Linked DNA regions of Homo sapiens: region 2 is linked to region 1. The links are contacts of gene promoters, found by promoter capture Hi-C in human tissues and cell types (Jung and others, 2019). All regions are on one chromosome and are shown on one strand. The core of a region is centred on a gene start or on the middle of the fragment in contact, and the rest is flanking DNA. Distances in the headings are between cores, read along the strand shown. Region 1 holds the start of SOX5 (SRY-box transcription factor 5). Region 2 holds the start of LOC105369697 (a long non-coding RNA gene).

Region 1 (4,690 bases), core at 827-3,326:
TGGGTCATAGTTCTATGTTTTGTTAGTGTCTTAACTCCATAGTGACATGCTTAAATCTTATTCCACATTGATTTTGTAGTGTGTGTGTGTGTATATATATATTTTTAGAACATCTCCTGATGATAGAATTAAATATTAAGTTATTATCAACTTGTCTAAAAATTTATAAGCTTTGAATGAAAAATAAATTTACTAATATAAGTTCATAATTGATTTTTTTCTCTTTGGAATATGTGTATGATGTATCACTGTGAATGTCTAAAAAAGTAAACTTACTGTTTGCCTGTCTCCAGAAAAAAAAGTGGGACCTAATCAAACTGCCGTGGGGTCAACCCTTGTGGTTTTAAAGGCCCTTAATGTTGTCCAGCTGCAAAATAAAAGGAATTGGGAGGGGAAGTTGGAAGGAGTGGAGGGGGTTGGGGGGGAGGAATGTGTGGAAAAGAACAGGGAGTCTGGCTTTTATTTTTTTTTTAAGTGAGTTCAGTGCCAGCCTGGACATTGGCTGTACAGACTATTGAGCCATTGTCTGCTCCATTTCCAGAATAGCCCCCAGTTAATCACTTCGGCTTTGAAGGGAATTTCCTCGTGGAATTCTCCACAGAAAATCTAATCAACTGACCTGCCCTCTCAACAATGGAAGGCTTTTTTTTCCTCTCTTTCCCTTATTGGGGCGGGCTCTGTAATGTAGCCTTTTGTGCAGAATGAACCCTCCCAGTAGGAGTGGAGAGCGTGCGTGAGTGAGTGTGTGTGTGTGTGTGTGTGTGTGTGCATGCGTGTGTGAAGAATGCACACTATCTCCTGTTGGTAAGTGTGTGCTTACTCCCTGACCAGATGCTGCGGTGCACGGGGCAGCCACCATCTCTGCATGCATGTCTGTGTAAGTGTCTCTCTCTCTGTGTGTATGTGCCTCTGTCATTTCGTGTCAAAGGTACATTACCTGATTACCTTTCTCGGCTGCCAGATTTTTATCTAGATAATTGGAACTGCTATGGAGGCTGTGCCTTGCCAGCCAGCTTAGAATCTGTAAAGCCATAGTTTGTCCACCTTGTTATCTGTGGCTGCCTGGGCAGAGGAAATTAAAGAGATCCACAGCCAGGGGGGCGCTTCCTACTCCTGACCTCCCCAGCGATCCCAAACAGGACAGTTTGTTAGTACCGTCTTTTTGTTTTTATGTTTTGATTTCGTTTTGGGTTTTTGTTCGCTCGTGTATGTTATTTTGGCATGTGGATACCTATTCCCCTCCACATCGCACATCGTGTTTTATGGAGTTTAGAGCTGAGGAAACTTTGGTCGGGTTGCCAGGACGTTCGCACCACTTTGCGGAAAGCACGAGCTAACAGTGAGACCGACAGAGTGAGTGACAAGTTGTTTACAGGTTTCCTTGAAGGGGCCTCTGCTATATTTCAATCTGTCAAAGTTGCTTTTCTTCCCTCAGAACAATGCCTGATTGTTGTGTGTGTGTGAGTGTGTGTGTGTGTGTGTGCGTGTATTTCCGTGTGTGAACGGAGAGAGCCTAGAAAAGGGTGAGAAGGAATAACAATTCTTTGTGTAAAAATGCTATTACTAACATTAAATTTTTTGCTTAATTAGTTAATAAATGCAGTTTAATCGAGCTTCTGTTATTATATAGACTAGGTTTTTAATCAGCAGCAAATACGTTTTACAAAATCATACTGTTCTGCGTGTGTATGTGTGTGTGTGAGTTTTATGATTTAGAAGACAGAGTATGGGAGACGTGTTAAATGAGTTGACTTCTCACATTCAGTGATGTCTAGAAGAGAGAATTAAAAGGAAAGGACAGGCACCCTGAGGTTGTCTAGAGCCTTGCAGCCGGAGCGTGTGGCTCCGCGGAGGGGGGAGCAGCCAGACTCCGCTGCTGGAAGTGCACTACCCCTTTAAGAGACTGGTCAAGGAGTCCTAGGAGAGAGAGGAGGGGAAGGAGGGGGGGAGAAAGAGAGAGAGAGAGAGAGAGAGAGAGACAGAGAGAGAGAGGGAGAGAGAGAGAGAGAGAGAGGGAGGGAGGGAGGGGGGGAAGAGACAGAGAGAAAATCAATTGGTTTAGAAGGTTTGGACTCACTTGACAGGTTCAGTTGGAGACGATCATAGGTGGCTGCTGTGACAAAGGGAAATTGTGCTTTTCCAGCATGCTTACTGACCCTGATTTACCTCAGGAGTTTGAAAGGTGAGTACAGTTTTTTCCCCCTAATATATTGAAGTACAACTCTCCCATTTTACAGTAGTCTCTGAATCATTGGAAGATGCTCCCCCAAAACGTGTTTGTTAGAGAAGCCTTTAGCTAGGGCTTCTGCAATCTTGTTAGCTGATTTTTTGTTGTGATTGCCCGGACCAAACTGAACTGATTTGCAAAGTCTCCGAGATTTCTGCTAATGTTTTTAGGTTGCGTCCTATAACAGCAAATTAAATGAACCTTAAGCATCTCTCTCTCTCTCCCCAACTCGCTGCTTCTGTCTTTCTCATTCACTCTCTTACTTTCTTCCTTCATTGATTGTTTTCTCCCCACCTTTTAAAAACGCTTTTGTGCAGAATGTTACCATTTTCAGCATCTCTGTCTCATGTAATTTCTAGGGTGACAGAAGGTTTTAGTGGTGCTTTAAACGGAGGCTATAAGTTCCTATTTGATCCTTCCGTAAAACTTTGGAAGCTGCTCAGTAAAGCACATGACCTTTTGTTGATATAAGAGAGCGTTTTTTCCCCCCAAAGAAAATTTAACATCATCGCTATATTAGATTACTCCCTAAGTGTCAAAAATAGGGGCGAAAAGGGGATAAATGGAGCTGTTCCCTTTCTAAGTTTTAGTGGCCACTTTTTGTGTTAGCTGTCTTGACTGAATTTTAATTTACTGTATTTTCCCCTTTTGCTATGATGGGAATAGTGTATTTGTAATTAAGTTGTTCCTATTTAGAGAAATATCTGCAGCATCCTTTTATTTGATGTTGTTGCAAGTAAAGCAGGGCTTTGAAAGAATTTTAGCCCTCTTAATGTTCCTATAAGTACACATTGCAATTTTTAAATTTGAGTTCTTATCCCAGCATAAGTTCATTTTTTTGAACTATAAATAGAATTTTGTTTGCCATTAAAAAGAATTCAAACTTTGTATTCTGTATGGTGAATTAAAAAAAAAAAAGCTAAAAAAAGCCAGGATGCATGATACCCAGGCTTTTTTTCATTTTCATGAAAGCTACCTTCTGTATAAACATTTGTTGTATCTGACTATGCAATGCAAGCTAGGTGCTAGACCAGCTGGTTAAAAATATGCTAAGTCAAGCTGTTCATCGCTCAAACGACTGAATTTGATATGAAAAGACGAAAAAAGAAAGGACAAAGATTAAAACATTCTAGAAGTGAAGCAATGGAAGAGAAAAAGAGTATTGAGGATAAAGTAACGCTTGAATGTGGTCACATATTAGAAAAGCCAGTATCAAATCAGGGAAGAAAGTAAAATAGCCAACACATATACTTCGGTGCTGTCATCTTTCTTTGATTTCTTCTGTGTTTTTTTTTTTAATAATTAAATTGCATCTTTACTAGATAATTCCAGCGAATGTTTGAGCTTTCTTAACAGTTTTGAATTAAAATTTTCACTTCTATATATTAACTCTTTAATTAGTGAGCTTTTATTTGCAAATATAGCCTTATATCATAGGTAGATGTTGAAGTTATTCATAGTGGAACATACTGTACATTACCTAATGTAGCGATTTGCTAATTTAACACAGTTAAGTTTTCTAGAATGCACAGAGTAGCACTTAAATGATAATATTCTTTAATTCTAATTATACTTTTTGCAAATACAACTCTGAGGCTGATTTGTAAGCCTGTTAACAGATTGTACTTATAAAAAGGTAGTTACATATTAACAGGCTGTAGCCTATTTCTCTATATAGGCAAGCTTCCTGCTGTGAACTTTATTTGTATTTTTTTTTCAATTATCTCTTTTTAAACTAAACTTTTCCCTTTCCTATTCTGATGCTCAAATCTGTTAACATCTTTTTTCCTCCTGGTGGGAATTTCATTTTTTTTTTTCACCCAGAGGCATGCTTTTCTAACTAGCTAATTAAATAAGCAAGTGATAATCAATAGGGTTGTTAGTATGACTATCATATTTAGAAATATTAGTAGCTAAAATAATTCTGAAAAATGTCACACAATATAACGTTCCTTAATAATTTCCCCTGTGGTTGTAATTGGTAATACATACAAAGATCTCAGCAAATCATTACTATTTGTTTACATTGAATTTGTACGGGTGAGTGTCTCTATAGGCACCCATGCATGATACAGTGTATCATGTAGACACAATATTGAATATTTATATTCTTCAAAGGAGGTATTTATGATGTAACTAAACTATCACATATAATTAGATTTTTTGCCTTTTCAACTATTTGCAACTTTCATTGAATAAATAGGTCATTTCTATTGACTGTTAATTTTTATTCTATTGGGTCACTTGCTATAGATGAATTTCCCACTTAAACTTAGAAATCTAAAAGAAGACTTCTAAATTTCTTTGTGAAATAGAGAACTTTGATCTAGAGGACATAATAAATTGCTTAGGGTTCATGTACTGTAAAAGTTTTATGTGATCATTTTTACTAATTTCATTGGTAGAGTCTTGTCCATCTTTTATTCTTCCCAGCCTGTAGACTATTTGAACTTTAAGGAATAT
Region 2 (4,690 bases), core at 910-3,409, 320 kb after region 1:
TGAGTTTACCTTCTCTCTTCCTCTCCTTCCTTCTTTTTTTCATTCTTCTTCATCCTCAAGTACTCTTTTTTACCTCCAAGAGCCAATGATGATTTAGATATTTACTTATTTATTATACTGATGCTGACTCTTTTTAAAGGCGAGGGGTTCATTTATATAGCTTACTTATCTATGTTCATTTTAATATTAAAAATGAATATCACTATTTACACAAAACGAAGTTACACTTTGAATTTTTGGACATTTGTGACAAGATAAAATCAGCTATGTGAATAATCTGTTTCTAATTAATAAGATCAAATGATGGCAACAATCCATCTAGCATTTATTTCTCATATTCATTTTCGTTATAATTTGCATTTTACTTAATGGGCATCATGAATATTTTTAATAGTAATAATTCTTCTGTAATGTACTGTTTCTGTTTTTTGCTACACTTCTAAGATTTGAAATTGGAAGGAAATATTTATCCACTTACTTCTCACTTTATAAATACTGTATTTGTCTTGGCCAAAAGATGGTTGCCACCTGTTCTACCTATAGGAAGCCAAAAATGTTGACTCCAACCAATGATTGATAGTGATAAGCAGAAGGAAAAAAAGATTGAAATTCTTTTTGGATGATCTTATTTAATTCAAAATAAGCAAGTAGCATCCAATCATCATTTTTATTGACTTAATTAAACTTTTAAAATTATTTTAGTAGGACTATTTTAAAAATTCATAATAATATTTTTGGAATAAAGGCTCAAAATTCCAAGTTGTCATAAATGAAACCTCATGGGCTTACAGCTTCAGTAACTAGTAATATTAGTAGCATGCATTCTCTGGAATAGAGAAAATGATAGATGATGTGTGATCATGTTAGAGAATGAATCATACAAAATATCAACTGAAATCAATCTTTTTTCATAGCAATCATAGGTATACGAAGTAATATTGGAAATGGCTTAAGCTCCTGTCTGATGGAGAGTAACATCAAGGTAGAGGTAGATGAAATACTGAAGCTCATCTTTTTATCAAACTCCTGCCAGTCTCTGAAGAAGGTCAATAATTATGACAGGACACAGATAAAAGAATGCTCCATATTTCCCAGCACTGTGAGTGACTGAGCATGGCTTTATATGCTTGGCCAAGAGAAACTTCCAGAAAATCAATAAGGAAGTAATAACCATATAGAAAAATCTAGATGTGAGGATTTTTATCTTGTTATTGAAGGAATTACTTACAAGGATGTATACTTGTTAAGTGTTCATCTTTACCTACCAAAATACTGTACTACTCAGTTAAACTTTTAGGTCGTATCATTTTCATACAGGGTGAATAATGATCAACTGCTCTTCATTTCAGTCGCAACCCTGGTGTGCTGTTTGCTGTTGGACTTCTGTCTGCATGAGTGAGTTTTCTTGCAGGTTAAAAGACTGAATTCCTTCTTTTCCTCTCCCTTCGACCCTGAGCCTGGAGGGCAGACAGACAGAAGCACACATATGATTAATACAGCACAGCTGCAAGAGTGAGTCATTTGCATATGTATTAATAGAGGCAAAAAAACCCCAACAACAATTAAATTATATACAGAGACATTTTGCATACTAAAGAACATATGCAAATAGGCCTGAAAAAGTGCAGCCAACATTTTCTCTGACTTTTCCAAGCCCATATGGGCTAGAGTCAGAGCCCAGCAGTTTGTCGAGAATCCCCTTTAAGGAAGAACCTATTAGGAACTGCTTCCATAGTTATTACCACCCCTAGAGTTCCTGGGAGGTGTTGACATTTGGACAATGGAGTCAGTACACACAGTGTCTTTTTCATACTATTTCTGTGTTTTCTTGCTTTCAGCAGCTTCATGGTGTCTTATTACATGCTGACAGAAACATCAGTACACGTGTGTTTTTCCAAAGTATTCATTTTTATTGTAATGGTCGATTAAATAAATGGTAAACTTTAAAATTATATTTGAAATTTTGTTATTACCTATACTAAAGCTATATAACTTCAGTCAGTGCCAGGTTTTCTGGTCACAAGTCCATGCCCATTCCTTGATAGTATCCTGTGTTATCTTAATCAAAACATGTTTTAGGTAACTTTAAAATGTTTCTGGGCTAATAAACATACATAAAAGAACTGCTGTCCCAAGACCAGCAGTAGATGTAATTCTATGAGCAATACCAATTTATTGAAATTTTTAAAGTATACTTTTTTAAATTTTATCAAGAAAAACAGAAATATTCAGTTTTCTAGTTTTGGCTGTGGATAAGAAGAGAGGGCAACTAATGTGTTTCAAGTTCACAGATTATGTTTATCTTAGAAATTTGTTCTTCAGCCTAATTGTTGGTTTAGTTTATTTTACTAGTATTCTTTAATTTATTTAAGGAATATTTTATGAAGACAAATTCAATCTTCGGAGTAAAATTTTACCTAAATAAGAGTTATCACCTTAATAGGACCAATGACCCATGTGAAGACAGATGCATCTTAAGAGGAACAAATGCTGGGGTTTTTGTTACTGTTGTTGTTGCTGTTGATACTAGAAAACTATTTAATATTATCCATGGATTTTTATCCATTATTCGTATGGTTTAGTCAAAGCATGCTACTGGGACATACAAATTGCATTACATACAACTTGTAACATAGGGTGGAGTCTTAATTAAATATACACAGAAAAATGTACTTAATTATGTATAGATACACACACACAAATTTAATGTCTTAGGGGATAATTAGAGGAAAGATAAAATGATGAAAGCAATTTTATCTTTTTAAGCTATTGTCTTTAGATTAATCTTTTAAGAAGCACTTTGTTTAGTGAGAGGCAGTATAACATAATGGTTATAAGTGTGGTTCTTGCAGCCATCTCTTCCTTAAATTATCATACTGTTACTTTCAAGCTCTGTGACTCTGGGCAAGTTACCTAACCTCTCCATGCCTCAATTTTCTTGTCTGTAAAGTGGGTATAAATGACCTCTTATTGTTGAGGATTAAATGAAATAATGCATGCAAAGTCTTGGAACAATAAATGTATTATTTCTCAAATACCATGTGCTGGATTTGAGTTAATATTTAATAGTATTAGCTGATTAATAATTGTTATTAGTAGATTTGAGAACTATTTGTTATTGCTTAAAGGAAGTCTTGAAAATTAGGGCATGGCAGACTTTCCTTACGTTTCAGAGCAGCACTAAAGTGTGTTAATAAAACTGAGACAAAATGTCTTATTTTTGAAGAAATAATTTCATTCATCTCTGTGGTATAAAATAAAGGCCCATCGCAAGAATCTATGGGAGGCAATGAGTTTACTTATCCAGAAGACAATCTGGGCAGTTACATGAAGGGTAGTTTTTCATATTTTGCTATGGTTCGTTCCTTGTTACAATATTTATATCTGTAAAATGAGAATAACATCTCCAGTCAATTCCCATTTTTCCATGGAGGTAATGCAAATGAATTGTTTCTATGTGCTGCCTCTAACTATTCTAAATAAATTTCTTACAAAGTCTAAAATAAATTATTTTTACATAGGTGCTTTTAATGTAATATGCAACTTTTTTATAAATCATATAAAAATATTTTCTTGTATAGCCATTCAAAGCTTATTTATTTCCTAGGTAATAGATACATGTCCTTGATACACTAGGATACATGTCCCTTATTCCACCTACATGTTGTCTACAGCAAAATTATTTCTTGAATTGAGAAAATTTTTATTTGACCAAACAGTTTTATTTCAAACTTGAATATGAAAGTGAATTATTTTTATAGACCCATAGTATCCTGGAATCTTTATTTATTCAGCAAATATTTATTCTTTGTAAGCTATTGAGCTAAGCATTATAAGAAATGCAAAGATGAATCAGTCAAGGATCCTTGGTGGATGATAGAGGAGGTTGAAATGAAAGAGAATGAATGAAATATGAAAGTGGAATAGAGTTTGAAGAAAGGCAAACAACCTATCATTCTAACAAGTGTATTTGAAATGAAAAAGACCTCACAGATGGTTGAAAACGTTGTTTCAAACTATTCACCGGACTCCAAGTATGTTCAAGCACCCTCCAGATAGTACCATTGACTTTTATTTGTTTTATATATTAAGTTCCACTGGTTAAAATTGTTTGAGTTAAAGATTTCTGCTGCTAAGCAAAACTTAAAAACCATTCTTCTATTCCAGCTCCTTAATTTTATGGATGAGGCAATTTAGACTCTAAATAGTGACCTGGCTAAAACAGATATTAACAAAAGGGTGCCCGGAATCCTAGCAACTGAAAATTAAATCTACCTTCTTCCCATTTTGCCATGATATTCTTAAAAATAAATGCATATATTTGTATATGTTATTTTTAAGTTGTTTCGTTTAAAAGGATAGGAAGAGAAATTGTTAATTTTGCACTTAGGCCATTAAATTAAGAAAGAATGAATAAAACAATGGTTAGGATTTGCATATTGGTAACAATGGCAACCTTCTGAATTGCTTTCATTTTGCTGAGTTCAGTGATTGTGCTCTGTGAATTAATTCTTTTGTGGAAAGCTATTGAAAGATCAAGGAATTTAGAAAACAAAACAACAGAGAAGCGTGCTGTTTCATATCTATTTGTACATAGAAGGTTCAAAGTGAGATTGTTTACATCACAAGTCTTGTTGACATTTTATTTGCTTCTTAGAAGAAAGATAGTATTCAAAAATGATTATATAAT

The links. Contacts are between HindIII fragments. The study calls those that stand out against the background at their distance.
Region 2: a contact is called between a fragment that was not itself captured here and the fragment with the promoter of SOX5 in region 1, in 2 of the 25 tissues and cell types used here (dorsolateral prefrontal cortex and mesenchymal stem cells).

Annotation. Positions count from the first base shown.
Region 1 is chr12:23,947,056-23,951,745 of GRCh38, reverse strand. It overlaps SOX5 (SRY-box transcription factor 5), which reads left to right and starts at 2,076. Exons shown (of 15, transcript NM_006940.6): 1 at 2,076-2,182. The coding sequence starts at 2,145. The HindIII fragment of the contact is 5,378 bases long and covers 1-4,638 here.
Region 2 is chr12:23,628,968-23,633,657 of GRCh38, reverse strand. All of the region lies in intron 8 of SOX5 (SRY-box transcription factor 5), which reads left to right. LOC105369697 (a long non-coding RNA gene) reads right to left here and starts at 1,336. Exons shown (of 3, transcript XR_001749445.3): 1 at 1,266-1,336. The HindIII fragment of the contact is 7,266 bases long and covers 1-4,690 here.